2 separate regions of the Homo sapiens genome follow, and region 2 is linked to region 1. Evidence: promoter capture Hi-C in 16 types of primary human blood cells and fetal thymus (Javierre and others, 2016). All regions are on one chromosome and are shown on one strand. Each heading gives the region's core, a stretch centred on a gene start or on the middle of the fragment in contact. The rest is flanking DNA. Distances are from core to core; before and after follow the strand shown. Region 1 holds the start of LINC02875 (long intergenic non-protein coding RNA 2875). Region 2 overlaps BCAS3 (BCAS3 microtubule associated cell migration factor).

Region 1 (3,105 bases), core at 575-3,074:
TGAAAGAGAAAAGAGCTGAGAGCCTAGTGCAGGGACGACATCTGGCCTGGGTCCCATCACCCAGCCGGTGACTGTATTGCAGTGGAAATGACCCTCGACTGGTGTTAACTGGGCTGCTTTCTAGCCGTGTGCCCTTAGGAAACGTGTGTAGGGTTAATCTCTGAGGGTGCCAGAGCTCATCTGGGGACATAAAAGGTCAGCTGGAAACAGGCTTCTAAGCCCCACCCCCTCCAACTCTGGCATTCCCCAGCCAACGGGTCTTACATCCCCAGCCTCCCATTGAGACTTGACCCAGAGCATTGGTGGCTTTTAATCCAAGGGCGAGATTCTCAGGCTGACCCCTGGGCCCTCCCCAGTCCCCACCACCTCCCGCTGGAATAACGCAGCCCAAAGCCTCCCCTATGGAGGCAGGAACTTAGGTGAGCAGCTCCACAGGGCACATCCTGCCCTCGACCCTGAAGACCCCGCCCTGAAGAGCCGGATGAGGGTGGTGAGGAGGGCGGGTCGGAGCCGAGGGGGCCCTCTCCGCTGGAGGAGCGCTGGATCCCCGCCGATCCTTCCCCTATCCCGCCCGTAAGTCCTCACCGTCGAGTGGGCCCCGCGCTCCTAGGGCCGTGCGCCCCGCGCGCTGCGGATGCCAGCCACAGCCCCCTTCGGAGGGGCCCAGGAGGCCGGAGGCCGGCGGCTCACTTCCCGCAGAGAGAACGCGAGGGCCCAGCCCCGCGGGCGCGCAGAAGAGGACAAGCTGGGGTCTGCAGCAGCCTGGAAGGTCGCCGAGCTGGCGCTGCCGGGCGGTTCTGGCAGCAGGGGAGAAGGCCCCACCCCGAGCCTCAAGCCCTCCGCTCAGTGTGTCCGCAGCCCCGGAGTCCCTCGGTCCCTCGGCGGCCTGTGCCGGGCTCCGGACCCGGCTCTGCCTGTGTCGGTGGCTGTGCCTCCGTGCCCCGCTTGCCGGGGTCCGCAGTCTATCTCCCGCTCTCGCCCGAGGCGGGCTGTGAGGCCGCGGCCCGGGCCCTGGCCTGCAGCGCCATCTCGTGGACCTGTGAGGAGTTGCCGAGGCCCGAGGCCTGGGCGGGCTCTGGGTTCGCTCCCACTCGTGCTCCCGGCGGGGAGCTGCGGGAGCTGCCAAGAGGACTCGCTGGGAAACCAGGCGCGGCCGTCAGCGCTGGAAATCGGTGCTTCCGGAGTGGGTTTGGGGTCCCCGGCCCCATCCAATAGGAGGAACAGATATGCGCCTCCGGAGAGCCCAAAAGGAAGTCCAAGTGCAAAACCGCCCCGGGCGTGCTCGGACACGTTCAGCGCCCGGCAACCAGCCTCCACCCCGAAGGCGCTCCCGGGAGGGTGCCCAGGAGACCCGGAGCTCGGGCTTCCTCCCAAGAGGGCGGGGGCTCCCTCCGCTGCCGCCCTGTCCTGCGAGCAGGGAGCGCTCGGCCTCCTGCGGGATCCCGCCTGACCGCCGGTGCTCCGCACCTCGGGGCCAAGGACAGCGAAGGAGGGGGAGGAAGCGGGACTGGATTTTGGGTCCTTCCCAGAGCGGAGGAAGGCAGGCTCGGGGTATAAATCCAGGGCTCGTAGAGGCTGTCCCTCAAGGGGCCGTCCCATAACCGGGAAATAGGGGGTCCCGGCCTCAAGCCGGGGCGCTTGAGCGTGAGAGTCCCGGGGAGAGCGAGGCTGAGCGCGCCCCTCCCGCCCCAGGAGCACCCCACGCAGGAGTTCGCGGTCAGCTGGGGAGGCGGGCCCGGGAGCTGCGGCCTTCGGGAGGGCAGGGCCAGGCCATACCGGTGGCTCCGGTTCTCCACAGCAGCGGCGGGGGAGTGGAGGAGGAAGGGCTTGAGGGCTCGGAAGATTCCGATTAACCCGAGAGGAAATGAGGTCCCCTGGGCCTTGGGATCCGGGCGGCTTAGCCGCTAGGGGTCTCTCGGAGCCCCTGCACTCACACCCTCCATCTCCGAGTTCCTCCGGGAATCGCACGCGCCACCCCACACCGACACGCACAATTCCCTCTTAGACCTCACACGCCCCACACGCGAGAGCCCGAGGCGACAGGCTAGGCCGCCAGCAGGTATCGCCATCGTCCCAGCACTGGCCCTCCTGCCACGCGTGTGCCGGCGGCTCTGCCGTCCAAGGACCCCGGGCCAGGCCCTGAAGGGTTAAGGAGGCCTTGCGGCACCGGAGCGGCGGGTACGCCGGGCGCCTAGGCTAATTGGCGACCCCGGGGACAATGAGGGCTGGGAGGCCGGGGAGGAGGGTGGCTTAATTGGACATGGGAGTGGCCTAGCCTTTGTCTGGGACAAGGCCCAGCCGCCGGCCGCGGGTTCCCGCAGTCGCACTCAGGCTACCAGCTGGGGCCCCGCGGAGCGCCGGGTGGGCGACTCGGAGGGGACATGTGCGGCGGGAGGTGGCGGCGAAAGTGGTGTGGGGGATCTCGAGGCCCTGGAGTCCCACCCCACCCCACCCGGGTTGCTGCAGCAACGACGCGGCCTAAAAACGGCCGCGACTAGGCCGCCCCGCCCGGCCTTCGCAGGCACCCGCCTCCCCCGCGCCCATGCCCGCACCCGCACCCCTCCCGCGACCCTAAGTCGGTGCTGCCCCCTGGTGTCCGCAGCCCTGTACGTAGGCCGCCGCGGGCGCGCAGCCGACTCTCGTCTCCCTCCTAATGTCCTGCTGAAAGTGAGAAGCCGCGGGACGCAAACGCGCCGCTCCTCTAGGAGTATGAGAGGCGTTTCAGCCCAAAGCGACCTCCAGCAAACGCGCTGCCCACGAGCTTCTATTTAGGCTGGAAAACGGGCTTCTCTGTCCCTGTCGGGTTCCCGGACCTGCCCGCAGGTCTGAGGCAGGGAAGCCAGAACCCACCCTCTGGGGTTGGGATACGTTCTACTGCAACCTCCCACTCGTGCACTGGCTGAGTCCCCTCCCTGCTCCAGCCGCATTCGGCGTGGCCTGGGGGCAGCACCATCCTGAAGAGGCGGGCCTGGTTCTCTCTCTCTCGCTCCTTGCAAATGTATCGGCCCACAAAGGCGTCCTGGGAGTCTGGGGGCCCAACTGTCCATTCCACCTTCACCATCACCGTTCCTCCATCTCAACGTCCCTGGTGTTTTGGAAGCCAGC
Region 2 (3,304 bases), core at 736-3,235, 370 kb after region 1:
TGCTGGGATTACAGACGTGAGCCACTGCGCCCAGCCCAGAATGATCTTTCTAAAATACAATTTTGATGGTGTCATTCCTATGCTTGAAAACATGTAATGGCTTACTACTGCCAACAGTGGTGGTTCTTAAATTATGCACCTGGGGATTTTTGTTGTTCTGAGCATTAGACAAAGGTGTTTAGGGCAGCTAAAATCAAGCAGAGTGTAATGTCAATAAGGTCAATCACTGGAACAAAAAACAATTAAGAGATAGATATAGCTATATCTTTTCCCCTATGTGTTTTATAAATATTTCAGACTTGTTATAGTATGTCTATTAAATAGACTTAATAGGTATCAAAATAACAACACAAAACACAATATTAACTCTGAAAGAGTCAACTATGCTTAATTCAACAATTAGTTTTGCTCCTTGAGAGGTAATGGAAAATGTACTCATGATTCTTATTTCATATCATATTCATGTCATGTATTTTTCCAGTTCATATGATAGTTAAATATATGCTTAAAAAATCTAGAAACTAACAACTTCTATATGCACTGCTTCTTGAATCAACCCGAAAACCACTTACATATCACCCGTCTGTGATGCCATAGGCAACACACGTCACTGCTCTCACAGTTCAATTTATAACCCTCCACTGACACACCTACCCCACTTTATTTTACTTTTTTATTAAATGTCTATCTCCTGAATTAGGGAATTCATTGAGGAGAGAAGCAATATACTAATCACCTTTAAATCAGAACTGCCTCACACATAGTAGGCACTCAATAAAAATGCCCTAGAAAAAGCAGAGAGTTCAACAATAATATGAGAGAGCAAGACTGCCAACTATTGATTACAGTTATAGAGTTTCATAACTTGAGAGCAAAGTCTATAAAATATTTCTGTTTCCAGTATAATATATAGCACATTATAAAGATAAAATAAAATCATTCGACAACTATTTTAATTCATGCTTTCTAATATACCGGGCAAGACAATGTGTTAAATACAACAAAGTTTCATTAAAAACATGTCAATGTTGATTTTTAAGAATTTTCTTTAAAGCGTGCACTACTCAGAGCCATCAAATTAAATTAAGGATTCTGTCTATATCTACAAAACTGAATTATAATTGTAAATAATTTTTAATTCTATAAACGCAAACTGGATAATAAATACTAAATTGCCTTTAAATGACTCCCATATAAAAAGCTGTTATCTAGGTCAATGAACTTGGTTCAGTCTCTACAAATGCTCACGCTTAAACATATAAGTAAACAAACAAATTAACAAATGTAGTTGAAATCTTTACCTCATTATTGCAAGTAAAATTCTACCAAAAGAAAAGCCTGCTGGCATTGTTTTCATAGTTGCACTTTTAACTGTGCTAAGTTTTGGGGTTTTTTTTTTTCCATGTTAGAAACAGATTCCAAGCTTTATGAAACTTTTTATTATATCCTAGCATTTTCAGGTGGTGGTTTTTATGTTTGTTTGAATTTTTGAGCCCTCCAGATATTCCCTATCAACTTAACTTTTATTACAGAAATATATTTCATAGGTAAAGAATATAAGCAGTCAGAGACATAATGTATACTAAGGCTTACAGTTTATATTCATATTAAATATCTTATTTGCCTCAAACTGATTCTTTAAGGCCCATGGCCTATGGACCAGTGGTAATGTTTGCTTTCAAAGCTAGCATTTTAAGATGAAATCTGAATAGACCATACGAAAGGAAAAAAAAAATCTGAACTACTTACGGCCAGCAAGCAGGAACTGATAATACTGTACTGCATCTGCAGCGAGGAGCAGAGGGTGGTTTGCATTAAACGGTGGCTGCAATTCATTCCATTGAGGGGTTCTAAGGAAACAGGAGAAGAATATTAATATTTAAGCTTAATAGATGGGATGTAAATCACCATGACTGTCATCACTTATGAACAGTGACTTAAACTCACACTACTTTTGTGATCATTAAAATGAACTTGTAATCATTAAAATGAATGTGATGAAACCTGAAACACAAGGCCATCTGCTTAGAAAAAATAAAAAGGTGGCAGTCTTTCATACAAATAACATGCAGTCAATATAAGCTTAACAGCAGAAGACCCTCCAACAGGATAGGCAAGACATTCAGAAGATTAAACAGGTGTAAAATTCAAATGTTACAACTAACTAGTTCTAATTTATGTAATTTCTGACCTCTCTATTCTTAAAATATGTGTATATTTTAAAATAAAATGAAGTAGGTAAAAATGGTTAATAAAACACAGCTGTGTAAATGGATGACTTATTATAGATCAAATTAGCATCTGAGTTCTGAAATAAGTTACTATTTCAACAATGATAGTGTAGTAACTTTAATTAGATCTGCCCACTCCTAAATAAGCTTGATAAATCAGATATTGATCAGATCAATCCAGCATAGTAAAGTAGTAGTAAAGAATGCTGGAGCCTCCAAAAATCAATACAAGAATATTTTAAAATGTCAAAAGGACAGGGATCATTTTCATATCCATTTTTGTCTGTTTCCTTCCATACATGTCAGGAGCAATTTTTTCTTTCCTGGACAATGAACTATATTAAAGAGGTTTTATTCCAGGTTTTTTTTCCTTTTGGTTATAGCTTATAAAGATTCTAATCATTATGCACGTTTGAGATGGACTCTGATTCTTAATAAACATTCCTATAAGGCTTAACCACTGTATCTTGGAGAATTACTTTCAGAGAAACCTTTGAATCTATCTATATTAGTTTCTATTCCCCTTAATGGCTATCTCAATGTTACTCTCTATTTTCGGTGAGCATGAGATTGCAAATAGAGGAAGCATAAATCCAAGAAAATTTAACACAGAAGTGCAAGGGGGAAATAAGTTCAAACAGAGGTATTCTCCAAGGTACATACAGAAGACAATTAAAAAAATATGTTCATGGGCCGGCGCGGTGGCTCACGCCTGTAATCCCAGCACTTTGGGAGGCCGAGGTGGGTGGATCATGAGGTCAGGAGATCAAGACCATCCTGACTAACACAGTGAAACCCTGTCTCTAGTAAAAATACAAAAAATTAGCTGGCGTGGTGGCTAGTGCCTGTAGTCCCAGCTACTCAGGAGGCTGAGGTAGGAGAATGGTGTGAACCTGGGAGGTGGAGCTTGCAGTGAGCCGAGATCACGCCACTGCACTCCAGCCTAGGTGACAGAGCAAGACTCCATCTCAGGAAAAAAAAAAAATGTTCACACAAGAATCTGTACATGAATGTTCACAGCAACATTATTTAATAACAGCTTAAAAAGTAGAAATATCCATCAACTAATAAAT

The links. The method cuts DNA at HindIII sites, captures the fragments that hold promoters and counts their contacts. A CHiCAGO score of 5 or more calls a contact.
Region 2: a fragment that was not itself captured here is called in contact with the fragment with the promoter of LINC02875 in region 1 in 1 of 17 cell types (total CD8 T cells); the score reaches 5.6 in total CD8 T cells.

The regions. Positions count from the first base shown.
Region 1 is chr17:61,410,470-61,413,574 of GRCh38, reverse strand. It overlaps LINC02875 (long intergenic non-protein coding RNA 2875), which reads right to left and starts at 1,824. Exons shown (of 1, transcript NR_160788.1): 1 at 295-1,824. RefSeq lists silencers at 818-877, 898-957, 2,478-2,647 and an enhancer at 2,527-3,105. The HindIII fragment of the contact is 15,544 bases long and covers 1-3,105 here.
Region 2 is chr17:61,039,338-61,042,641 of GRCh38, reverse strand. It overlaps BCAS3 (BCAS3 microtubule associated cell migration factor), which reads right to left. Exons shown (of 24, transcript NM_017679.5): 19 at 1,750-1,850. The region is part of intron 4 of BCAS3-AS1 (BCAS3 antisense RNA 1); the gene reads left to right. Among named protein-coding and RNA genes, the nearest start is that of BCAS3-AS1, 95 kb to the left of the region's middle. The HindIII fragment of the contact is 198 bases long and covers 1,887-2,084 here.